7 separate regions of the Homo sapiens genome follow, and all the other regions are linked to region 1. The links are contacts of gene promoters, found by promoter capture Hi-C in blood cells and fetal thymus (Javierre and others, 2016). All regions are on one chromosome and are shown on one strand. The core of a region is centred on a gene start or on the middle of the fragment in contact, and the rest is flanking DNA. Distances in the headings are between cores, read along the strand shown. Region 1 holds the start of FERD3L (Fer3 like bHLH transcription factor). Region 2 has its middle 160 kb from the start of MIR3146. Region 3 has its middle 190 kb from the start of MIR3146. Region 4 has its middle 250 kb from the start of MIR3146. Region 5 has its middle 140 kb from the start of MIR3146. Region 6 has its middle 230 kb from the start of MIR3146. Region 7 has its middle 210 kb from the start of MIR3146.

Evidence for each region. Contacts are between HindIII fragments. The CHiCAGO score rates a contact against its expected background, and 5 or more counts as called.
Region 2: a contact is called between a fragment that was not itself captured here and the fragment with the promoter of FERD3L in region 1, in 1 of 17 cell types (M1 macrophages). The highest score is 5.3, in M1 macrophages.
Region 3: a contact is called between a fragment that was not itself captured here and the fragment with the promoter of FERD3L in region 1, in 4 of 17 cell types (M2 macrophages, M0 macrophages, M1 macrophages and 1 more). The highest score is 6.9, in M2 macrophages.
Region 4: a contact is called between a fragment that was not itself captured here and the fragment with the promoter of FERD3L in region 1, in 3 of 17 cell types (M0 macrophages, M1 macrophages and M2 macrophages). The highest score is 9.1, in M0 macrophages.
Region 5: a contact is called between a fragment that was not itself captured here and the fragment with the promoter of FERD3L in region 1, in 2 of 17 cell types (M2 macrophages and M0 macrophages). The highest score is 6.7, in M2 macrophages.
Region 6: a contact is called between a fragment that was not itself captured here and the fragment with the promoter of FERD3L in region 1, in 1 of 17 cell types (M0 macrophages). The highest score is 5.7, in M0 macrophages.
Region 7: a contact is called between a fragment that was not itself captured here and the fragment with the promoter of FERD3L in region 1, in 4 of 17 cell types (M0 macrophages, M1 macrophages, M2 macrophages and 1 more). The highest score is 7.8, in M0 macrophages.

What each region holds. Positions count from the first base shown.
Region 1 is chr7:19,143,962-19,147,457 of GRCh38, reverse strand. It overlaps FERD3L (Fer3 like bHLH transcription factor), which reads left to right and starts at 2,037. Exons shown (of 1, transcript NM_152898.2): 1 at 2,037-2,676. The coding sequence starts at 2,096. The coding sequence ends at 2,596. RefSeq lists enhancers at 991-1,639, 2,105-3,304. The HindIII fragment of the contact is 4,985 bases long and covers 1,902-3,496 here.
Region 2 is chr7:19,539,399-19,543,330 of GRCh38, reverse strand. No RefSeq gene overlaps it. Among named protein-coding and RNA genes, the nearest start is that of MIR3146, 160 kb to the left of the region's middle. The HindIII fragment of the contact is 1,129 bases long and covers 1,754-2,882 here.
Region 3 is chr7:19,514,504-19,517,984 of GRCh38, reverse strand. No RefSeq gene overlaps it. Among named protein-coding and RNA genes, the nearest start is that of MIR3146, 190 kb to the left of the region's middle. The HindIII fragment of the contact is 5,074 bases long and covers 1-3,481 here.
Region 4 is chr7:19,454,705-19,458,429 of GRCh38, reverse strand. No RefSeq gene overlaps it. Among named protein-coding and RNA genes, the nearest start is that of MIR3146, 250 kb to the left of the region's middle. The HindIII fragment of the contact is 176 bases long and covers 1,701-1,876 here.
Region 5 is chr7:19,564,420-19,567,872 of GRCh38, reverse strand. No RefSeq gene overlaps it. Among named protein-coding and RNA genes, the nearest start is that of MIR3146, 140 kb to the left of the region's middle. The HindIII fragment of the contact is 5,840 bases long and covers 1-3,453 here.
Region 6 is chr7:19,478,296-19,481,800 of GRCh38, reverse strand. No RefSeq gene overlaps it. Among named protein-coding and RNA genes, the nearest start is that of MIR3146, 230 kb to the left of the region's middle. The HindIII fragment of the contact is 1,148 bases long and covers 1,261-2,408 here.
Region 7 is chr7:19,495,903-19,499,780 of GRCh38, reverse strand. No RefSeq gene overlaps it. Among named protein-coding and RNA genes, the nearest start is that of MIR3146, 210 kb to the left of the region's middle. The HindIII fragment of the contact is 213 bases long and covers 2,204-2,416 here.

The sequences.
Region 1 (3,496 bases), core at 788-3,287:
ACTTGCAAATAGATTGTAAATGAATACAAAATAAGTCACTGAGAAGCATTTAACATAATTTAAAAATCAACAAGAAATTTGTCCAAATATTTAATAACATATTAATTTAAACGAGGGTTAGCAAGCATGTTACTACTTTTTTGAAACAAAAATCAGTTCTCCCATTTACTAGCTTCATAGCCACTGTTGACAATCCTATTATTTATTTTTCAGCCTTCCCTTTGAAAGATGCTTAGCAAAAATCAACTAAGTAACAACCAAAGATCTCATTCTCTTTAACATCTTCCAGGATCACAAATTTCAATTATTCTCTGCCTGAGTTATCACAATTCAAACTGGAGAATGAAGAGTAAACACAAGCAAAAGAAGATAAAATCTATTAAAAGATCGAGAGACACCAGACACAAATGGGTTAAAAGAAGAAGAAGAATTAAAGGTTATACTGTTTTGATTACACACATAGAGGCTAGGAAGAAGAAAATGAATTGAGATTACCTGTTAGAAATAGGCGGTTTCTGGTTTCTGGGAGCTGTCCAATGTACTGAGTGAACCATCATAACCACAACTTACCCCCTTAATAGGGACTGACGTCCTGGGCAGTTCTCTTTTGAACCGGGATGTTTCTACATTCATCTTTTTAGGCTATTTCTTCCAATCTACCTTTAAAATTATCTTCTAATCTGTCACTTTGACACAATGGGTCTTTTAAATAAATCTTTACACAGTACTGAATAATTAAGTAAATATAGTTATTGGCAAACAAAGAAAAAGAACCTTTTTGTTAAAATATTTGGGATACTCGAGATAATATAAAATGAGTAATCTCTTATTTTTCTTATGCCAAATTTAAAATCTCTTTCTTTTCTCAAAAATAACGATCTAACGATAGCCAAAAACTCCCTTAAATATATTTCAATAAATCATTGTTTCTGCACTTAAGTCTTACTGTAGGACAATACAAATCAATGAGGAAAATACGCCAGATGGAAGTGTTAGGTTTTTTTCTTTGTTCGGGAACAAATACTCGATCCGCAATTTAAAAGTCCGAAGACTCCTCAGCAGAGGGTGAGCTGATTGACTCTTTGGCTTATCAAGGGCAAATCGCATTTCTGAAAAGAGCTTGAAGTGGTTTTGTTTGTGAGGAGAGTTTGCTTTGTCCCCCACACTGAAAAGTATACAGCAAAGCCCGAGCATAGAAAATATCCTGAGCTTAAATTTCTCATTTTATTGCCATCATAACTTTTCCTCTTGGAATAAAATCCTCTATTTTATATGAGTAGGAGGTAAAGGTAGGGAAAGGAAAGTCAAGTATCTCAATTGTTACGCTGATTGCATCCAAACAGACTTTAGAAGTCAGGGTTTGTAACGTGGCAGGAGAGCTGTTTGCGATGCCCTGGAAAGAAAAGAAAGCCGGTTCCAACAGCGACTCTGGGGAATGCACTCTCGGTCCCCCTGCCATGCTTACTTAAGCTAATTGAAGGTCTTGCCTTTCAGCAGCCGCTGCACTGGGATACCAGACAAACAGCTCCCCTTGATGCCAGGCAGGCAGGGCCCCTCTTCAGGACATCATTAAAAGCACATGCACTTGCTCCACATCCATTGGCAGATGGTGGCAAGATTCAAGACTCCTACCCTGAAGTCAAGGAGAAGCCATCGCGGTGGAAAACATCCTCGCTTTGAAAATCCAACACGAAATTAAAGAACTACACGAGATAAGGAGCCTGGAGAACATTAGTTGGCTGCAGGGGTGAAGACAGACACAAAAAGCACAGCAGGTAAGAGCTGGGGGTTGTTGCCAACAAGGAACTGTCCCGGGTGGCGCAGAGAAAAGGATCTCAGAACTGGAGCCCTGTCCCTTTGAGTCTTCCATGCGTGCTCAAGCTTGTCATCTTCCATAAGCTTCGAGAGAAGGGACGTTGTCAGAGCATTCCTTATCGGTGCGACTAATCCTGTTATCAGCTTGGTTATAAATATTTAATGTTCCCTGGCCTTTCGGTGATGGTGCCCCATCAGATTCAAGGCTGTTAAGAATCCCCACCAGCAACCTCGCCCCTCCCTGCGGAAAACCGATGAGAGGCAGGGCCAAGCCGAAGCGATGGCGGCCTATCCGGAGAGCTGCGTGGACACTACGGTGCTGGACTTCGTCGCAGACCTGTCCCTGGCCTCCCCGAGACGCCCTCTCCTCTGCGACTTCGCACCCGGGGTCTCCTTGGGGGACCCAGCCCTTGCGCTCCGAGAGGGAAGACCCAGGAGGATGGCGCGGTTTGAAGAGGGGGACCCAGAAGAAGAGGAGTGCGAAGTGGACCAGGGGGACGGAGAAGAGGAGGAGGAAGAGGAGCGCGGAAGAGGTGTCTCCCTATTAGGCCGCCCCAAGAGGAAAAGGGTGATCACCTACGCCCAGCGCCAGGCCGCCAACATCCGCGAAAGGAAGCGGATGTTCAACCTCAACGAGGCCTTTGACCAGCTGCGGAGGAAGGTGCCCACGTTTGCTTACGAGAAAAGGCTGTCCCGGATCGAGACCCTCCGCCTGGCCATCGTCTATATCTCCTTCATGACCGAGCTCTTGGAGAGCTGTGAGAAGAAGGAAAGCGGCTGAGCCTGGTGTGGAGAGTCTGCCCTTCCTCGTCTGGTAGTGCTGGGGTGTGTCAGGACCGGGCACTGGGTGAGGCTAAAGGGCCGGGAGGGAGGCCCCAAGACAGAACGTCTGGTCTTCTGGAGGTCGGGGTCGAGATTGTAAGATCCCCACATGCGCTGAGCAGAGTGGCTGCTGTAGAGTTCATATCTACGCGACCGCCCTAAGTGAAGTCGGGGTCAGGGGCGAGCGGGGAAGTCAGAGAGCGTGAGGCTGAGTCGGGGCCGTTCAGGCTGCTCCTAAGAGCTTCCGTGGGCTGGGTGGGTGGGAAGTGAACCCTCCTCGCAAATGGCAGACTTTGGAGCTTCTATAAAATCTAACCTCTCTTCTTTACATTTTTTTTTTCATAGAGATAATAAAGTAGAAATTCTTACGTTTTTAAAAAGCCTGAAGGGTCGGTGGTACGCCATCCCCAGCAGGCGCTCCAGCGGGCGCCTGCGTGGAGGGTCTGAAGCAGACGCCGCAAGGGTGCGGGGGTGCGAGCTTTTCTGCTAGCCAGAGGGTTCTGCCTGGTCCTCCGAGGCTTGTCCAGGAACTGAGGAAAGGAAAAATGGAAGGCAGAGCAGTCGAGAGGAACTGCTGACAAAGTGCGACCTCTGAGAAGGGACACCCTTCCTGTCTTCCATTCCCTCTCCCTCCCGTCCCTTCCTCTCTCCCGCGCGCAAGCCCTCTCTCTTCCTTTCTCCCTCCCCTTCGCCACCTAGTTGATCCCAGACGGACCACAGCTCCTTGTCCCAGGGCCACAGTGGTGTTCATTCAGTGCCTTAGCCAGAGTGCAAATCTACGCTTTGCATCTAAAGTGCAGCATCAGCTTCCGTGTTCCAGTGCCTTCTTCAGGCCCCAGGCCAGAGTAAGGGGCGAGTG
Region 2 (3,932 bases), core at 1,069-3,568, 400 kb before region 1:
AAAACAGCAAAAGCAATAGCAACAAAAGCCAAAATTGACAAATGGGATCTAATTAAACTAAAGAGCTTCTGCACAGCAAAAGGAACTATCATCAGAGTAAACAGGCAACCTATAGAATGGGAGAAAATTTTTGCAATATATCTATCCGACAAAGGGCTAATATCCAGAATCTACAAAGAACATATAAATTTACAAGAAAAAAACAACCCCATCAAAAAGTGGGCAAAGGATATGAACAGATACTTTTCGAAAGAAGACATTTATGCAGCCAACAAACATATGAAAAAATGCTCATCATCAATGGTCATTAGAGAAATGCAAATCAAAACCACAATAAGATACCATCTCACACCAGTTAGAATGGCCATCATTAAAAAGTCAAAAAACAATAGATGCTGGAGAGGATGTGGAGAAATAGGAACACTTTTATACTGTTGATGGGCATGTAAATTAGTTCAACCATCGTGGAAGACAATGTGGTGATTTTAGAACCAGAAATACCATTTGACCCAGCAATCCCATTACTGGGTATATACCCAAAGGATTATAAATCATTCTACTATAAAGACACATGCACATGTATGTTTCTTGCAGTGCTATTCACAATAGCAAAAGCTTCAAAGCAACCCAAATGTCCATCAATGATAGACTGGATAAAGAAAATGTGGCACATGTACACCATGGAATACTATGCAGCCATAAAAAAAGATGAGTTCCTGTCCTTTGCAGGGACATGGATGAAGCTGGAAACCATCATTCTCAGCAAACTAACACAGGAACAGAAAACCAAACACCACATGTTCTCACTCATAAGTGACAGTTGAACAACGAGAACACATGGACACAGGAAGGGGAACATCACACACCAGGGCCTGTCAGGGGTTGGGGGTCTAGAGGAAGGATAGTATTAGGAGAAATACCTAATGTAGATCACGGGTTGATGGGCGCAGCAAACCACCATGGCATATGTATACCTATGTAACAAACCTGCACATTCTGCACATGTATCCCAGAACTTAAAGTATAATTTAAAAAAAGAAAAAAATAGTAATAATAATAAAGTACACAATAAGCATAATGCACTTGAACCATCCTGAAACCATCACCCCCTACCTCCAAAACCGGGTCTCTGAAAATAACTGTCTTCCATGAAACTCATCCCTGGTGCCAAAAAGGTTGGGGACCACTGTTCTACATTATAAACGCCCCCATGCCTTCCTTTCTCTACACCCAGAGGCTCTGAGAATTTAATTCTATTAGCTGAACAGTAAATTAAAGGTAAGAGAATAAACCTCACACTGGTAAATCTCTATGACATCCTGCCCACTGCAGAAGTTTCTCAAATCTCATTGATTCATATAACTCGTTTTGACTGAATATAAAAGATAAATAGCTGTGTCTTTTGACTTCTGTTTAACGCAGCTTCAATATAGTACCTGTCCATCCAATAGAGAGAACTGTAATGGTGATTATCTAAGCCAAGTGACACTGCCGTTTCCCACATATTTTCACCCCAATTTCTGAGAGCTCTCCCAAGATTTCCAGTCTCAAAAATATGGCACCTCTTTTCAAACCTCTCCGTTTAAGTCTCCTCCCTCCCCTACCTTTACACCGTCTCTGGGACTTCATTACATTTTCCTTCACCAGCCACTCACCAGATGCATTATCCCAGCCCTCTGAGAAATGAAAAGTGAAAAGTGGTTCTTTTCGAAACTAGATAGAGAAACTTCTGTCTTAATATTTTTCTGAAGCTTGCTTTTATTTTCCAAATGATCTGGGTTTGGCAAAATCCTTTTCCTTAAGTAATAGACAAAAACATGACATTCCAAAAGGGAAATGGCAAACCTAAACAATACCGTGAAGATTAAACACTCGACCCTTTTTGTTCAGCCCAAATAATCTTCCCCAAAATGGAGACCCTCTTGCACTTCTTCGATAGCTAGTATAATAGGATATGCATTGCTGTCACTTAAATTGGGGTTTTATTTTATTCCTTCTCTTCTTACATAGACTTGTAGATGACAAGTAAAAATCTTCATTTATGTCTAGAGCCCAAGGCTCTTAGAGCAGAACTTAAACCCAGAGTGAAGAAGTCAAATAATGTTTTCAGCCTTGTGGTTAGATACCACTATTATCCTCATTTTAGAGAAAGTAACTGAGACACAGCATGGCTAACTAATTTGAACAAGATTCCACAATTTTAAATTTTGAATCTGGAATTAAAATCTTGGTTCTCTTTTTCCAGAGCCTTTGACCTTAACCCTGTGCTATGTGGCCTCTCCACTACTCTATTTTTATATCCCTTTATGAAGTATCTGATTCTGGGAATGTATTTCCATTTTGAATTTGAAACAAGCCATTGCTATTGGTCTGAGACCCAAAGTCTCTATAACTTTACATTGCATATATAGCTCTCTAGTTCTGATCTTAAGACTGAGAATCTTAGATTTTGATGTTCATTACAGTGATGAGCATTTTAAAAAAAATCCTTTCGGACAAATTCTTAAGAACAAAGCTCCTATTAAAAGATTCTTTATTCTAAAATAAATATCAGAAGGGAAAGTTCATATTGAAATTATTAGAATACTTCATAAAGCAAAAGAAGAAAAAGATGCTGAGGGAAGAGAGAGCCCTCAAAAATACCCTCTGAGCCATTTTAGTGAGTTTTCTAAACATATTGTACCAACCTTAGTTATCCATCCTCTCCAGCCTCAGGCTGGGGCAACTTCTGAGGATGGTGGAACATGTCCTGTTACTCCTCGGGGCTCTTGTTCTCTGCCAATGGGACCCTGGTAACTTAATGGAGAGAATGCACTGCCGTTGGGGATGTGTCTCATGCCCCTGTAACATCAAAGAAGGTCTTCTCAGGCACTGTCAAAGCTTGTTTTCCTGCTCTATTTTTAGTAGCAGTCAATATATAGAATCTGAACATTTAGGCCTATTGGGGCTTCATGGCCTGTCATCATAACTAGTAATGACAACAGAACTCAGTGAGGATCTGTATCTCTGCTCTTTCAGGTTGAGACTTGCCCATCTCATATTCCTGTCGTGTTGTACAGTCTTAGTCCTCTCTATGAAAAGCAGGTCCCTGAGAAACACTAAAGTTGTACCTTAAAATCTGTCAAGACGCTTTCATGTTTCTCTCCCCCTTTCTGGCAACTCCTTTCACCTTTGAAGGATCCCGGCGATTCAGAATTTCTTTGAAAAGCAGGAATTTCTTGAAAGTAAGGTTCAACTCAAGATGAAGAAGTGAAAATAAGTACTGTCAAAAGCGATTATCAAGGGTTTCACACCCAGAACAGAAAGTAAGCAGGTACCAATGCCTACAGACGCTGATGGATTTACAGCATTTACAGTAGACGGTTAATGAGGTCATCCAGAGTCAAAGAGCAAAATCTTGCCGTTATTACCTCGGGGTCCTTAAGCAGGCCCTCAGCCATAACTGTGAGTACCATGTCTTCTCAGGTACATATGTTCCAATTATCTCCATAGCCTTTAAGCGAGTAGCTTCAACAAGTCCATTCTATAACACTGTTCCCTAAGCAGGACAGAGCATTCTGAACCAGCCCCTGTCCCTAAGTTTCCCTCTGCACATCAGCAGAAAAATATTACTGATTTGAGCTGCTCTGTTCTTATGGAAGGCACGGCTTCCTCTGGTTCTCTATGTTATTTGTGCCCAAACACAACCCAGCAAATGATACTACACGACTTTGCTCCTGTCTTAGTTCAGAATGGGCATGGCCCTTGGGCCAAGATGAGATGGGAGGCACATTTTCAGGTCTAGAGTCTGTGATGGCCTCTCACATCTCTGAATGTGCCTTGCTTATTCTGTCCTTCCTTTTTCAAACACCATGAACTTCCCTCTTTCCAAGCACCAGCTCCAGGCCCATTCATGTGGTCTCTTTGAGAGGATGCTGTGCCCACCCCTACTC
Region 3 (3,481 bases), core at 218-2,717, 370 kb before region 1:
ATTGATAGACGTTTAGGTTAGTTCCAAGTCTTTGCTATTGTAAATATTGCTGCAACAAACATACGTGTGCATGTGTCTTCATAGCAGCATGACTTATAATCCTTTGGGTATATACCCAGTAATGGGATGGCTGGGTCAAATGGTATTTCTAGTTCTAGATACTTGAGGAATCGCCACACTGTCTTCCACAATGGTTGAACTAATTTACACTCCCACCAACAGTGTAAAAGTGTTCCTATTTCCCCACATCCTCTCCAGCACCTGTTGTTTCCTGACTTTTTAATGATCACCATTCTAACTGGTGTGAGATGGTATCTCATTGTGGTTTTGATTTGCATTTCTGATGGCCAGTGATGATGAGCATTTTTTCACGTGTCTTGGTTGCATAAATGTCTTCTTTTGAGAAGTGTCTGTTCATATCCTTTGCCCACTTTTTGATGGGGTTGTTTTTTTCTTGTAAATTTTTTTAAGTTCTTTGTAGATTCTGGATATGAGCCCGTTGTCAGATGAGGAGATTGCAAAAATTGTCTCCCATTCTGTAGGCTGCCTGTTCACTCTGATGGTAGTTTCTTTTGCTGTGCAGAAGCTCTTTAGTTTAATTAGATCCCATTTATGAATTTTGGCTTTTGTTGCCATTGCTTTTGGTGTTTTAAACATGAAGTCCTTGCCCATGCCTATGTCCTGAATGGTATTGCCTAGGTTTTCTTATAGGGTTTTTATGGTTTTAGGTCTAACATGATAGATTTTAAGCAGAAGGAGGCGGACTGTGAGGTCGTGTTACAGTCTATCAGCCACCCAAGTAGCACTGAATTAAGAGATTACTGTAATGATCCAGGTGACAGATGATAAGGGCTAGAACGAGGCTGATGATAGCAAGGATGTAGAAGATAGAGAAGACTGAATAAAGACTTCGGGGAAAGAATAGGTAGGACTTGAAATTGGCCATGAGGCTGAGAATGATGGGGAAGTAAGGATGACTCCAAATTGGTGATGTGATGGATAGTAAAAATATGAACTGGGATGGAAGATACCAAAATAGGAGTATACATATTTAGAAGGAGCTACTGAATTCAGGCTTATTCATATTGAGTTTCAGGTGCTTATGGAAATGTCCAGTTAAGAATATAACAAAAATGCTGAGTGAAACTATCCAATAAGTAGTTAGTTTAGTTCATCTGATACAGGCTAGAGAGTTGGGAGTCATGGGCCTATGAGTGACTTCCAAATCTTAAATTATATAGGATCACTAGAGACAGAATTCTGAACTTCAACACATAAGAAACAGATGGAAGAAAAAGAAGCTGAGACTAACATGAAAAGAAAACCATATTGCCACTTTTCTGGGATTACTTCGTAAATACATGGATAAATATGAAGTCAATTACCCAACTTTAGACTTTATTTAAAATATGTTTAATCCACATGTCTCTGTTCTAAAATGTGTAATACAATAGCAAATTACTGGCTTTATAAAGGGTTTTAAGCTCATGTGGAAGTCTGAACTGAGAACACTTTTGATAGAATTACTTGCTGCTACCATTTAAGAGACAGATACCTCACGTTCAAGCAAGTCTGAGTGCATGGATCTAACAGCTCCTGGCTTTAGAAAGAGTTCTCTATGTGTGTAAAAACCTAAGAACTAGTTTGTTTTCCATTAAAAGTTGTGCTTTCTTCTCTTTACAGCAAAGTCCAAAATGAGATTTAGAAGACTACTGCTGTGCGAAGAAGCCAAGTTATCACTAAAATAGATGGAGCAAAAGAATTTAACAATGCTTTCACAGCTGAGTATTTAATCCTGTAGAAAGATGATGGCTCTGATTATAAAGAGATAATGATGCAGAATGTACGAGAAGGGAATTTGAATTTCTAAGAAAAAATGTTTGAGAAGGAGAAAACTGCAAATTCTGTGAGAAACAATGTTTTAAGTGCCTTCTAATAAGGTGTTTCTTAAGATGAGATGGAAAGGACATACTTCCTCCTTATCTAGGTACAGATGTTACTCACTTGTGTAAGACTGAGATATTAATTAAATTTGAGCATGCTAGGTAGAGCAAAGGCCAAGAAGATACCTCACAGATAGCCATAAATTACCCCTAGAATCTGAGCTAGAATCTGAGGTTAGAAATTTTGTCTGTTTTGTTCTCTGATATATCCCACGCACTTAAAACAGTATGATACCTACACCAGGCACTCAATGAATTTTTATTGACTAAGTGGTCAGTTTAACAAAGTCTAAAGTCTTAACTTTATCAGCACATCTAAAGTTTATCCACGTCTTAGGGGTTCACTTCAGCAATTCAAGAGAGAGTGGTATCAAAGAAGAATGATCATTTATTAATTTTGAAGAGAAAAATCATCGTAGGAATAATCAAATGTGCAACATTAACATAAATAACTTTGTGGTCTAGCTAAGTACAAAGCTAAGTCATACCCAGCAAGAAATTTTAAAATTTACAATGAGAAATATAACTTTCCTAGGAATCACAATGTTAATGTGTGTCAGAAGAGCAAATTAAACCCCTGTAAAAATCAAATGGGAAACAACATTAAATGAAAATAAACATGTAATCCTTAAAAGGAAAAAACTTTAAAAGTACAATCTTAGTGGATCCTGATAAGAAAGGCTGTTGTAGTCATCTCAAAACAGGACAGAATACTAAAGTTCAGTGTCTATAATCTCCTTCATTCTGCAACACATATGTTAGCTTTGCCAAGGATACAGAATGCAGAAAGTGCATTTACAAAAGTTTCCCTCAACCATGGGCTTCCTTGAAGAACAGACTTCAGTCTATATGCCTATTCCTTTTAAATTCCTAGCTGAAAAATCTCCAACCACTGCACCGCCCTCTAATAAACCTCTTCTTTGTTTAGATAACTTGATAAATTAAATTATGTAAAAGCAAACTATTAAATCTTTTTCTAATTTTACTTTGCACATTCTACTCTGATTAATTATGTGCTGATCTTACCTTTTAACCTTCAAAACCAATTCCTATTATTCCCAATTATAAAGTTTGGTGGAATACCTCACTAACAAAAATAATTTATTATATGTGTCTATATAATCATATTTTAGTTAGTTCTTTGATATCCATACAAGATAGGTATTGCACAGCCTGATATGTAAAATTCTAAGTAGTTACGAAGTAACAGAAGCATTGGGTGGCCACACAAAGCCAACAACTTCTGAGCAATGGAGAAAGTTTTTTTATTAAAGTACTCATATATTTTGTTTTTGCAAAAAAAATCAAAATGGTCCATTTTACTAGTCTCAGGATTGCTACTCAGTGCAAAGAGAGAGTTCAAAGAGGAAACACTGTTGCATAGCGTGTACTTGAGAATCCCGTAGTTGTGTCATGGCTGGGCATTTATTTGCAAAGGCAGATTGAGAACAATACCAACAATGAAAGCAATAGACAAAGATATGAATTGATGTATGTCTTAACCTGACTGACTGTACAGAGTAATTGACTGCTCTGCA
Region 4 (3,725 bases), core at 539-3,038, 310 kb before region 1:
ACTGCCCACAGCTTCTTGCTCATGCTGCTTGCCTGAGAGGGATCCCACCCTCTCAGTTTCCAAGCCAAAGGCACTATTTTGAGAGTTTAATGCTGAGCTGTACCCCACCCTCTGCCTGAGATCTGGCTGATTTGGCTGCAGCAGCTGCCCAGCCAAGGAGGAAAAGGGAATCAAGATTATTCTGTGCATATATAGGACAAGACCCATTACTCTGCAATGGGCTCCTGTGAGACTGAGATGCGAGTGGACCACACCCTCCACAGCTTCTTCCTATACTACTTGCTTTAAAGGTGCCATGCTCCCTCTGATCCTTGGCCCAAGGTGCCATTTTGAGAGTTTACCTGTGGGCTGCACCCCACCCTTGGACTGAGATCAGACTGACATGGCTGCAGCCACCATTGAGCCATGGAGCATCAGGGAAACCAGGCTACCCTATGCACATCTAGGAAAACACCCACTGCTCTCCAATGAGCTGCTGTTGATACTGAGATGTGAGCAGACTGCAGTCCACACAGCTTCTTGCCCACACTGTCTGCCTGGGAGGTGCTTTGCCCTCCGTGGTTGTAGGGTCAATGTGCCATTTTGAGATTTCAACACCATGCTGTGTCCAGACCTCAGGCCAAGTTCAAGTTGACATGGCTGTAGCCACCACAGCATCAAGGACAGGGAAACCTGGTTCTCCTATGCATATCTAGGACAATATCTAATGCCTTGTTATGAGCTGCCATGAGAACAAGACTAGAGCATACTGCACTCCCCACAGTTTCCTGCCCATGCTGCTCACCTGACATGGGCCCACCTTATGTGGTCACAAGCCCCAGCTGGCACCATTTTGAGAGTTTAAGGTTGGGGTGTGCCCCACCTGCAGGCAGTTTGAGTCAATGTAGCTGTAAATGGTATCTAGTCAGGGGACAAACAGGGGAGAACAGGCTCTCTTAAGCATGCTTAGTACAATAACCTTCACCCTGCTATGGGCAGCTGTGGGACTGGGAACTAGCCCACCCAACCCATCAGAGCTTCCAACAACAGCAACACAGACTGCTTGGGTCCCAGGAGTTGCTCCACCACCACTACTACCATCGCCCACACCACGCCAGCTACCCAGTGGCCTGAGAAGCTACCTACATACCTGGTCCACCATTTCCATTACTAGCTTCTAAGCCGGCCAACTGGAGGCCCAGGAATCAGCTCTCCAGGACCCACTCACACCAGGGGCAGTGAAAGCTGCTCTGGGGCCTAAGAACAGGCATGCTCACCCTACTTCTGCCACCACTGGGGCCTGAAGACTGGGCTCAGTTGGTGTCCTAAGTCCCCAGCAAAACTTCACCACAACCTCAACTAACAACTGTACCCTAAGTCACTCAGGAAATCACAGAAACAACTGACCCTGTGTACTGCCAAAGATGACATACAAAGAAAAAACTACCCTAGGGACCCAAAATCAAAGCCAAAGTATTAAATTCAATAAACAGGATACATGATCCTCAGGAAAAAAACTCGCCTACAAAAGCAATTTCAAAATTTTGGAACAAGTGACTGCTACACCAGGTACACAAATATCATCAGGACACAGGAAACATGAAAAAGTAGGGAAATATGACACCAAAGGACCAAAACAATTGTCCAGCAACAGATCTTAATCAAAAAGAATTCCCTGATTTGCCAGATAAATAATTCAAAATATTGGTTTTAATGAAGCTTAATGAGATGCAAGGGAAATTTGAAAATCAACACAAATGAAATCAGAAAATCAGATCAAGATATGAAGGAGAAATTTAGAAAGGAGATAGATACATAAATAAATAAACAAATCAACAAGCAGAAATTCAGGAGCTAAAAAATTCATTGAAGAAAATTCAAAACACATTCTAAAGCTTCAGTAATCTGCTAGAGCAAGCAGAAGAAAGAATGTGAGAACTTGAAGACAGGTATTTTGAAACAAGCCAGTGAGACAAAACTAAAGAAAAAATAAAAAAGGATGAACAAAGCCTTTGGGACACCTGGGAATACATAAAGCAACGAAATTTATAAATTATTCTATAATAGATTTCATGTCTATCAAGGGAGTTAGACATCCAAATAGAGAAGGCCCAGTAATCCCCAGGCAAATACATTGCTAAAAGGCCTTTACTATAGCATATTATATTCAGAATGTCTAAAGTCAAGGTGAAAGAAATAATTTTAAAGTTAGCAAGAGGGAAAATGGCAAACAGGAGGTAGGACTAACTTGCAGCTCCCATTTGGACGGACAGAATAGTGCGTGGAGACTCATATTGTGAACTTTTGCTCTAAGAGCTACCACAGGAACATACCAGGAAAGCCAAGAGAATCCACAGACCCTTTGAAGGAGGCAGATTGCTACTGAAGCCTCCATGGGACAGCCAAGGAATTGTGAGTCTGTGAGTCCGCTTGCTTTCTCAGCTGGGAGGCTTGCAGCCAGGGGCAAGTTTTCAGCCCTGCTCACTGGCTGCCTGAGAAATAAACCCAGTGCAGTTGGTGGGGGCACAGTGAGAGTGAGATCAGCCTTTCTGGCTGTTGACTGCAAGGGAGCTGGGTGAGCCTGTGGCTACCGGCTTTCCCCCATTCCCTGGCAACCTGTATGACACAGCAAAGGCAGCCATAATCCTCCCTGGAAACCTTCCCTTGCAGCAGACAAACCAAGCCCCACCCAAGGAGAGTCTGAGTTCAGACAAGCCTAACCCTGCCCCCACCTGATGGTCTTTCTCTATTCATCCCGGTAGGCAAAGACAAAAGACATCATCCCTTGGGAGCCCTATGGCCCTGCCCATCTCTTGACCCTAGGGCAATCTTGAATCCTCCCTATACAAGTGCAGCTGATGCACCTTTGAAAGTACCCACCTCCTGGCTGGAGGCCAACCAACACAAAACCAGCACACTTAACAAAAATTTAACCAAGGATCTTCACAAAGTCCACTTCACTCCCCTGCTACCTCCACTGGAGCAGGTGCTGGTATCCATGGCTGAGACACCTGAAGATGAATCACATCACAGGACTCTTTGCAAACACTCTCCAGTACCAGCCCAGAACCAGGTAGCTCTGCTGTGTGGCTAGATCCAAAGAGAAATAACAATCATTGCAATTTGGCTCTCAGGAAGCCCCGTCCCTAGGGGAGAGGGGAGAGCGCCACATAAAGAGAGCACCCCATGGGATAAAAGAATCTCAACAGCAGCGCTGGAGTCCCAGATCTTCCCTCTGACACAGTCTACCCACATGAGAAGGAACGAGAAAAACATTTCTGGTAATGTGACAAAACGAGATTCTTTAACACCCCCAAAAGATCACACTAGTTCACCAGCAATGGATCCAAACCAAGACAAAATCTCTGAATCGTCAGAAAAAGAATTCAGAATGTCAACTATTAAGCTAATCAAGAAGGCACCAGAAAAAGTGAATTCCAACTTAAAGAAATTTAAAAAAAGATACAGAATATGATATGAATGGAAAAATCTCCAGTAAAATAAATAGCATTAAAACAAAAAATAATTATGAGTTCTGGAAATTAAGGACACAGAGAATTGCAAAATTTGCTGAAAAGTCTCAGCAGTAGAATCAAGCATGAAGAAGAAAGAACTTCAGAGCTCAAAGGCGAGGCTTTTGAATTAACCCAATCTGACAAAGACAAAGAAAAAAGAATTTTAAAAAAATGAACAAAGCCTCCAAGAAGTTAGGAATTATGTTAAATGAACAAACGTTAGAATAACTG
Region 5 (3,453 bases), core at 731-3,230, 420 kb before region 1:
GTGTGGTGGCAGGCATGTGTAATCCCAGCTACTCAGGAGGCTGAGGCGTAAGAGTCACTTGAACTGGGGGGCCGAAGTTGCAGTGAGCTGATATCACACCACTGCACTCCAGCCTGGAGGATAGAGTGAGACTCTGTCAAAAACAAACAAGCAAACAAAAACCTGCTACTACATTGGAGGAAACCAATGGAACATCTGTGGGCTTCTTACCCAGGGATGCTCAAAATACCACTGACCTCCACCCACCACTACCACCAAAGCTCAGGCAGTAAAAACTGGAGCTTTATGAGTGGTGAGTGATGGTTCGCACAGTTCAAGATTGACGGCACAAAGGTTTACTAGCTATGCTGGTGGACTCATTCAGGAAGAGAATATAGGAGACAATAATTGGCAACTATGATGGCCAGGTATTATGGTCTCAATGTGGGGTGGGAGGCAGAACATTAGAATTTAAGGGAGAAATCTTGAAATTGAGTTATAGAAGGCATAAAATAACAAACTCTCCACATCTTTGGTGGACTGCTAAGCTATGCCTTAAGTTGGAGACCTGTGACTGACCAATGAAAAGTAGAAGAGATTCTTGAGTCATGAGTAAAATCCAAGTCACTTGTGATTTTGAATGTAGTCCTCTACCTACGCAGCCCAGTTAGCAGACAGTGGAAGCCTTACAAATTTGAGGTGATTCAGCATAGTTTCTGCCCAAATCACTGGGTAAATGTGAAAATACTCAATCCTCTAGGGATCAAGCTACAGACATGTTGAGTGGAGATATATGCAGCTATACGCAAGAGGAAACGGATTTCCCAGGATGAATCTAATCAATTAACGGAAACAAAAAACCTTAACAAGTAATTACAGCAAGGTTATAGAATAAAAGGTTAATATACAAAATCAGTTGCTTTCTTATATATTAGCAATGAACAATTATAATTTATAATTAAAACACAGTATCATTTATATTAGTGCCAAGAAAAGAGTGAGAAAGAAATAATTATGTACACATCAAACAAATTATATACAGGATACATGGGAGAAAACCTAGAAAATGCAATGAAGAATCAAAATCTAAATAAATAAGGACAGTCTATGTTCATGGAAATAAAGACTCATGAAAATGTCATTTCTTCCCCAAATGAATTAAAAATCCAACACAATCCCAGTCAAAATTCCTGTAAGTTATTTTGTAGATATTAATAAACTTATTCTAGGGTTTACATGGAAAGGAAAAGATCCAAAACAGCTAACACAATACCAAAGATAAACAAGGTCAAAAGACTGACACTAACAACTTCAAGGTTCACCATAAAGCTAGGATATTCACAACAGTGTGGTATGGTGAAAGAATGGACAAATAGATCGATGGAATAGATAGCCCAGAAATAGACCCACCAAAATATAGTCAACTGATCTTTAACAAAGGAGTAATGGCAATTCCAAAAGAGAATGGATAGTCTTTTCAACAAATGGTGCTGAAACAACTGGACATCCATAGGCAAAACAGAACTAAACAAAATAAAAAACAGCCAGATAGGCATTTTATGTCCTTTGCAAAAAAAATTAACTCAAATGGATCTCAAACCTAAGTACAAAATGCAAACTTATTATACTTGTGGAAGATAAAGTGGGGTAAAATTCATGCAACCAGATTTGGTGATGAGTTTGTAGATAGAACACAAAAAGCACTAATCATGGAAGAAGAAATTGATAATTTAGATGTTATTAAAATTAAAAACTCCTGCTCATTGTTAAAAGAATAAGGAAACAAGTCACAGACTGGGAGAAATCATTTGTAAAATATATCAGATAATGAATTTGTATACAATTATATACAAAGAACTCAAAAACTCAACAAAAAACACACAACACAATTAAGAATGGGCAAAAGATCTGAATAGAGCTCAGTAAAGAAAATTATACAGATGACATATAAGCATAGGAAAAGATACCTCATATGAAGTATCTTTAAGAAATTATAAACAAAACAGTAATGAAATACCATTACACACCTAGTAGAGTTGCTAAAATTAAAAACAAACAAGCAAACATGATACCAAATGCCAGTGAGAATGCTGAGCAACAGGAACACTCAATCATGGCTGGCAGCAATGCAAATAGCTCAACTATTTTGGAAGACAGTTTGGTAGTTTCTTTTAAAGTTAAAAGTAATTTTACCATATGATCCAGCCACCATATTCCTAGGTATTTACCCAGTTTTGAAAATTTATGTCCACACAAAAACCTGCACATAAATGTTTAGAGCAGCTTTATTCATAAATGCCAAAAACTTAAAGAAACCAAGATGTTCTATAATAGAGGATGAAGAGACAAACTGTAGTGCATTTATGGAAAGAAATATTGAGCAATAAAAAGAAACCTGCCAGTGTTCAATAGCACTATTGGGTGAGTATAATTAACAATTTATTGTTTATTTTCATATAGCTAGAAGAGTGGATTTTGAATATTTACATTAAAATGGATACATGCTTGAGTTGCTGGATACGCTAATTACCCTTGTTTGATCATTGTACATTGTACACATGTATTAAAATGTTATGCTATACTCCATAAATATGTAAAATTATGTTTCAATTAAAAATAATAAAAGCAACACAAAACACATGTGCTATAAACCATGAAAAGACATGAAAACAATGTAGATGTATACTGTAAAGTGAAAGAAGCCAGTCTGAAAAGGCTCCATGCTATATGATTTCAATTATATGAAATTTTTGAAAAGGCAAAACTATAGAAATCATTTTCACTTACAGTATTTAATGGATCACTTTTACAATTTTGCAATTTTTAATGAATCAGTTTTACAGATATTTTTAGATCAGTGGCAGTCAGCAGAGAGGGAGGAGAAGGATAAGTAGGTGAAGTACATGGTATTTTTTAGGATGGTGAAACCATCCTGTATAAAACTGTAATGGTTAATATATATTATTATGCATTTGTCAAGCCCTGTAGAACTTTACAGCACAAAGAATGACCTTAATATAAACTATGAATTTTAGCTAATAATAATATATCAGCATTAGTTCATTAATTATAACAAAGGTACCATCCTACTGCAAGATGTCAGTAACGTGGGAAACGGTGACAGTCATGGTAGAGAATGGGGTTTGAATGTATGCAACTCTTTGTAATACCTGCTTAATTATTTTGTAAATCTAAGACTATACTAAAAATGGCCTATTTATTATTTTAAAAATCAACAACCCTAAAACAGAACAGAATCTAGTCACTGTCACATATTACTTATCATACTAATTGCAAACAAAAAATGCCAGACATGTAAATAAGCAAAAATGTGTGCTGCATAGTTCAGAAAAAAAATCAAAAGAAATTGACTTCGAGTGGGCATGGATATTAGATTCAGCAGACAAAGACTTTAAAGTAGGACTGATAAGTATGTTCAAATAATTAAAGAAAGAATAGCTAAAATATTAAAGG
Region 6 (3,505 bases), core at 585-3,084, 330 kb before region 1:
ATGTGAATATAGGCTGAAAATTTTCTTAACAGAAATATATTGAGCCAATGATTCAGAAAGCATTATAAACACTAAGCAAGAAATATATAAAGAAAAACACACCTTGGCATGTTGTATTACATAATAACTGGTAAAAACAAAACTGAAAATATTGCAAGTAGCCAGACGAAAAAGATACATCATTTGCATATTGAGTTAGATATTCAGTGGACATTTCAACAGACATGATAGAAAACAAAAGACAATGAAATAGCTTCTTGAACCTATAGAAGGAAATTAATTTCTATTTTAGTCTGTTCAGGCCATTGTAACAAAAGTGCCATAAACTCTGTGGCTTATAAACAACCAAAATTGATTTCTCATAGTTCTGGAGGCTGCAGAGTCCAAGATCAAGACACTGGCAGACTTGACATCTGGTGAGTACTGCTTTCTGCTTACCAGACAGACGACTCTTTATTGCATCCTTACATGGAAGAAGGAGAAAAATAGCTCTCTGGGGCCTCTTTTATAAGGGCTCTATCTCTAATCATAAGGGCTCCATCTTCATGATCTAATAATCTCCCAAAGGCCTCACCTCCAAATGCCAATATACTGTGAGTTAGATCTCAGCATGTGGATTTGAGGGACACACAAATATTCAGTCTATAACATTTCACCTGTGACTCCCCCCCAGTTCATGTCCTCACATACAAAACACATTTATTCCATCCCAATAGCCCCACAATTCTTAACTCTTTCTGGCATCAACTGTAAGTTCTAAGTTCAAAGTCACATCTAAACATCATGAAAATCAGGTATGGGTTACACTCAAGGTGAAATTCATCTTGAGGCAAATTCCCTTCCAGCTGTGTATATAAAATCAAACAACTTATGTGTTTTCAAAATACAATGGTGGAAAAGCACAGGATGCATTCCCAGTCCTAAAGGAAGAAATAGCAAAGAAGAAAGAAGTGAGAGACTGAAAGCAAGTCCCAACCCAATAGGTCAAACAACATTAAACTTTAAGGCTTGAGAATAATGATTTATGACTAAACGCTCTGCCCTCCAGGCCTACTTGGGCATAGGTCTCACCTTGAGAACCCCCTGGGGTGGGGGTACTGCCTTCTGGATTCACTGGGGAAGTGGTCCTCCCTCCACAGCTTTGCCAGGCAGGGGTTGAGCCCCCATGGCCATTTTCTGTGGTAACTCTACCTCCATAGCAGCTGTTCCTGGGTCACGTACCTGAGGCTCTCCCAGCCTGGAATTGCATGCCAGTAAGCTTTACCAGTCTGGCGTCATGGGGACAGCACTGCATCTGCTGTTCCACTGGCACTGCCCTGTCAGGGGCTCTCTGTGGTGGCCCCACACTCACTGGGCTCTTGAACTCTAAATCTGTGTTGGGAAGGGCAGCCCTGATGATTTCTATCTTTGGGGTCATTATTCCATTATCTTGGATAATAGGTCCTAATTCCTGTTAGCTGACTAAACTTAGCTGATGGTTGGTTGGCCACACCCTTCCTGTTCTCTTCCAAATAGGTTCTCTCATTCTTTTCAATGTAAATAGGCTGAAAATGTTTCAAATCTTCAACTTCTGATTCCTTTTTGATTCACAATTTCATCATTATGTTATTTCTCTCTTCTCATGTTTTACTATAAGGAGTCTTAAAAAACCAGACTGTCAAGATGGCCAAATAGGAACAGCTCCACTCGACAGCTTCCAGTGTGAGTGACACAGAAGATGGGTGATTTCTGCATTTCCAACTGAGGTACTGGGTTCATGTCACTGGGGCTTGTCAGACAGTGGGTGCAGCCCATGTTGCAGGGCGGGGCATCACCTCACCCAGGAAGTGTAACGGGTTGGGGAATTCCCTTTCCTAGCAAAGGGAAGCTGTGACAGATGGTACCTGGAAAGTCGGGACACTCCCACCCTAATACTGTGCTTTTCCAGGGGCCTTAGCAAACGGCACACCAGGAGATTATATCCCGTGCATGGCTAGGAGGGTCCCATGCCCATGGAGCCTTGCTCACTACTAGCACAGCAGTCTGAGATCAAACTGCAAGGCGGCAGCAAGGCTGGGGGAGGGCCGTCTGCCATTGCTGAGGCTTAAGTAGGTAAACAAAGTTCCCAGGAAGCTAGAACTGGGTGGAGACCACTGCAGCTCAAGGAGGCCAGCTTGCATCTGTAGACTCCACCTCTGGGGGCAGGGCATAGCTGAACAAAAGGCAGCAGAAACTTCTGCAGACAAACATCCCTGTCTGACAGCTTTGAAGAGAGCAGTGGTTCTCCCAACACAGAGTTTGAGATCTGAGAACGGACAGACTGCCCCCTCAACTGGTTCCCTGACTCCCGAGTGGCCTAACTGAGAGACACCTCCCAGTAGGGGCCGACTGATACCTCATACAGCCAGGTGCCCCTCTGAGACAAAGCTTCCAGAGGAAGGATCAGGCAGCAACATCTGCCATTCTGCAATATTTGCTGCCCTGCAGCCTCTGCTGGTGATACTCAGGCAAAAAGGGTCTGGAGTGGACCTCCAGGAAATTCCAACAGACCCGAAGCTGAGGGACCTGACTGTTAGATGGAAAACTAACAAACAGAAAGGACATGCACACCAAAACCCTATCATCAAAGACCAAAGGTAGATAAAACCACAAAGATGGGGAGAAACCAGAGTAGAAAAGCTGAAAATCCTAAAAATCAGAGCACCTCTTTTCCTCCAAAGGAATGCAGCTCCTTGCCAGCAACAGAACAAAGCTGGATGGAGAATGACTTCAACAAGTTGAGAGAAGAAGGCTTCGGATAACTGGTAATCACAAACTTCTCTGAGCTAAAGAAGGATGTTTGAACCCATTGCAAAGAAGCTAAAAATCTTGAAAAAAAAATTAGATGAATGGCTAACTAGAATAAACAGTGTAGAGGAGTCCTTAAATGACCTGATGGAGCTGGAAACCATGGCACGAGAACTATGTGATACAGGCACAAGCTTCAGTAGCTGATTTGATCAAGCGGAAGAAGGGGTATCAGTGGTTGAAGATCAAATGAATGAAATGAAGCAAGAAGAGAAGTTTAGAGAAAAAAGAGTAAAAAGAAATGAACAAAGCCTCCAAGAAATATGGGACAGTTGCAGCAGTGCAACTGTCTGACAAGAGCTTTGGCTTCTACCCCACCTCTATAGTGAGGAAGTAGCTTTGTCTCCTGTCTGGTAGGCATTTGCAGAGGCTGTGCGTATGAGCAGAGCCTGGCTACCATCCCAAGGTGACAGTAGGGAGACAGTTCCCCTCCTGACACTGGTAGGCATCTGCAGAGTTTGTTTGAGTAAAGCCTTACTATCATCTCACACAAGCAGTTAAAAGCCCTTCCTGGCTCCTAGATATCTGCAGAGATTATGCGTGTGAACACACCCCTGACTACCACCCTAGCTTGACTGTCATGACATTTAAATAGGAAACTGAGTCATATCATAATACCTCAAATTTCTAAAATGCAATACAAAATAACTCTTCGTAACTAGAAACATTAACTCAAATG
Region 7 (3,878 bases), core at 1,061-3,560, 350 kb before region 1:
TGTCCATCATAGGAGTATTTATACCACAGAAATGGACAAATGCTAAAAATTAGCACTTGATTCATTATTTGCTCATTGTCTAGACTTAGAAAGTAATGGAAAAATGTTAATATAACAAACTAAATTTAAAATAGGGTTGTACCCATATCCTTTACATAGCAAATAGCACAAAAATTTGAGGTAATGCTATTTGGTATTCAAAAATGCTACTCTTATTCAGCAAATAAAATACTCTCGTCATTGATGAACAAATAAAAATGGATGATCAAAATAAAAAACGGAGGTAATTGAAGACCAGATTTTCCTTACTCTCATCCATATCCTGGTTTCCTTCACAACTGTCATTCTTGCTAGACTGCAAGATCAACATAAGATGCAGAGGTACTTCCCCAAATTTCATAAGGCTGGACCTTCTAAACCCTGGAGGAAATCATTTGGTCTGTCATCTATAGTTGTTCTAATTCTCTGATTAAATACCAACTGGTATGTTAGGTTATGATTTTCATCCATTTTAATGGCAACATTTTTCTGATGAGTTGTTACCTATAGGAAACTTATGCCAATTATTTTCATCTTTAAAAAAAATAGATAGGGTCTCACTCAGTAGCCCAGGCTGAAGTGCAGTGCTACTATCATAGCTCACGGTAGCCTCAAACTCCTGGGCTCAAATGATCCTCCTGCCTCAGCATCCCAAGAGGCTGGGAATATGGTCATGTGACATCACATGTGTATACATATCTTTTAAATTTTTGTAGAAATGGGGGGTCTCGCCACATTGCCCATGCTGGTCTTGAACTCCTGATCTCAAGCGATCCTCTCATGTCCGCATCCCAAGTAGCTGGGATTACACACGTGAGTCTATGCTGTGCTAGACTTCACGTTTTCTTACATAGTATCTTAGCATGTTGTTGAATGTATCCTTTTTTCATTACTATTTTTTAATAAATTATATTTCCCAGAATTATTTTCCAGTGCTTTCTCTAAGGATTGGAGTTAGATTAAGATATCTGTCCAAACTACACAAATATAAGAGCTCTCTTCTGTTGCTACAAGATGACCCATGGTCTTAAATTGAGGTTCCTCTATGTAACCATTTCTCCTCTGAACCTCATAACTTAGGCTAGTAGAGGAGAGTTTATACCACCAGTTTTAAGTTTTACTATTTTCTTTACAAACTGCATCTCAGGTTACTGTTATCAAGGGACACACAGCCTTTGTCTTCCAAGATGATGGCATCACGGTTACGTGTATTTGGCTAGTGCTTTTGAAATTAGCAACTTCCTTGCCCCACCGAATACTTTCTAGGCCTTCTTCCTCAAACTCGCTGTGCCAGGGTCATGTTAGGTCTCAGCCTTGCTGCTAGCATCTCTACCCTAGAGTGGGTTCTCTTTTTCTAGAAATGAATACTTGTTAAACTTTCTCAGCTGTGCCACTGACCAATCTGATAATTAATGAAAACGGAGCAATTTGGCAACTAATAAAGAGGGAGGATTAAGACATTAAACTAGTCAGCCCTAGATTAGGAAAATACTATCAGCTCTCTCAAAAGTCTTCATAGTGTAAACTAAAAGCCTGCTAGATTTTGTTGTAATTAATTTAAAATTTAACCTTTAAAACTATTTCTAAACTCTATCCCATTAAAATGTACTAGGGAGTGAACTGATCATATAATATACCTTGTGTTCTGAGTTTCTGTCTCCATTCCAGTGCTTCCATTTCAATGTGGCCCCTTACTTAAGGCTCTATGTCTATTCCCCGACACCACACATAAAGGTGTCACATTCATTTAGATCTTAGTTGCATGCCAGTTGTTCTAATTAGGAATAGAAACTTGTAGAAGTGCCCCCCTCCTGGCTTTTTCTACTGTGCCCTAGCACCCCATCTCCCTATCCACTGCCAACCCTACCCACCCACATCTGTAAAATTATGTTGTCCCTAAGCTCCATCTTCCACGCATAAAAAGAGAATGCTACTTTAAGCAAAATAGGATGGTTTCTGTGTTAGAACTGAGAAATTCCACACTTGGTCAAATTTTATATATTGGTAGACCCCGTTACTAACGATAATGATAATACAAATAGTAATGTTAAATTAGCTTTGGATTGACTTGGTAGACTTTTCTGAAAAATATCATGAAATATGTGCAATTTTACTAATTTAATGACAGCTTTCTAAGCATGCCATGGTAGAATTTCTTTAAGCTTATATTTTGAAAGTATCTAGAGAATAAGTAAAAAGTAACATTTAACTCATGTGAGTAAAACATTCTTTGTGTTACAACTATTAAGTACAAAATGAATTCAGTTTAAATGGGAGATTAAGTGATTTTCAAATAATTCAAGCCCAGTTTTTCTTGCTGCAAGGCATTTTAACATTTAGTTTTTTTCAAGTTCCAAAATATGCCTGATTTTAAGCTTACTTTGGTATGTATGTTCAAAACACACTTGACAAATAATAAAAGTCGAAACAACAACCATTTTACTGTGCCATATTCAAAAAGCTATTATGTTAGACTTGGCTGGATAAAAAGTATGAGAATTTCACAGTCAGTACCTTCTGTATCAAATATACTATTATTTTTAAGTAATTTCAATTTTAAATGCCAAATTAGAACATGTGATATTTATTTTGAGAAGCTGACAAATTAGCTAAATGAGAAAGAGTGAGTTCTTCACCAATTTGAGAATAATCAGCAGAGTCCTGGAGAATTCTGACACTTCTTGCTCTAAACATACTCTTACCTCTCAAAGTGAGCTGTGTGAACTTGGATTTTGTTTGCTATTATAAACCTTTGAGTCAGGAATGTGCAGTTTCTCAGATCCCCAAAGAGTCATTTCAAAAGATTAGGAATCATAGTTTTTCTTCTCCAAAAATGTGTTATAAAATGACAGGTTAAAAATCTGAACATTGTGATGGTTTATGAATAACTATTCTGGCTCTAGACAAGAAGCAGGACACTTCTGTTCTGAATAAATTTCAGTCCCAAGGGGTTGTGAACTTAAAAGAGTTAGAATCATCTGTTTCTCAGGTGCATAAAAATAAGAACAAATAGATTATCTTTTTTCCACAGTGGAACAGAAAAATGCGTGTACTTGTCTGCACCTACTATTGGTGATCAACCAAAATAAAAATAGTTACCCCATCAACAGAACTCAGAGGGTAGAGATAAATCATGTATGATAAAATACTTGAATTTTTAATCAAATTGGCAAGAATGTTCCACACAAAGGTCACTTTCTCCAGGGGACTTTCCCTTTGTCTTTTGATTTGACTTAGTCTGTGTTCTCTATCCTTGTAAGCAATCGATGCATTCCTTTACTATTACAATCTTCCATTATAGAAACAATGTCGTTTATTTCTATACTTTTAATGATATCAACCATTAAAACTGAAACTTCATCAAGCAATACATTGCTGCATCTCAACACCTAAAACGGTTTCTAACACATAATAGGCACTAATAATTATTAGTTGGCATAATAAGTAGGCATTTAATAATTATTAGTTGCATAAACGATTTGGATTTCAATAAACAATATATCTAATTAGTCAGCACTGATGCCAGAGGAAGATTACAGGTCAAGCTGTATTGTAAAAATAAAAAGCACCACATTATAAAGATTTTCAAGTTGTAGCCATAAACTAAAATGCTACAAGTCACTTTTGTTGCAGTTAAATTTTAATTTGCTCACTAATATATAGCAACTATTGATGCAGACGATTCCACAAGAGAGGCCAGAGATAGTGAGGAGACCCCAGAATATTAACCAAACCATATGTAAGTAAAAGCTCGTGAGGGGAAAACTGAAAATATATCTTGGTGAGAGGGAACCCAAACTCATCCACCCACAGGAAACCCCAGCATTTTTTTTCCCAGC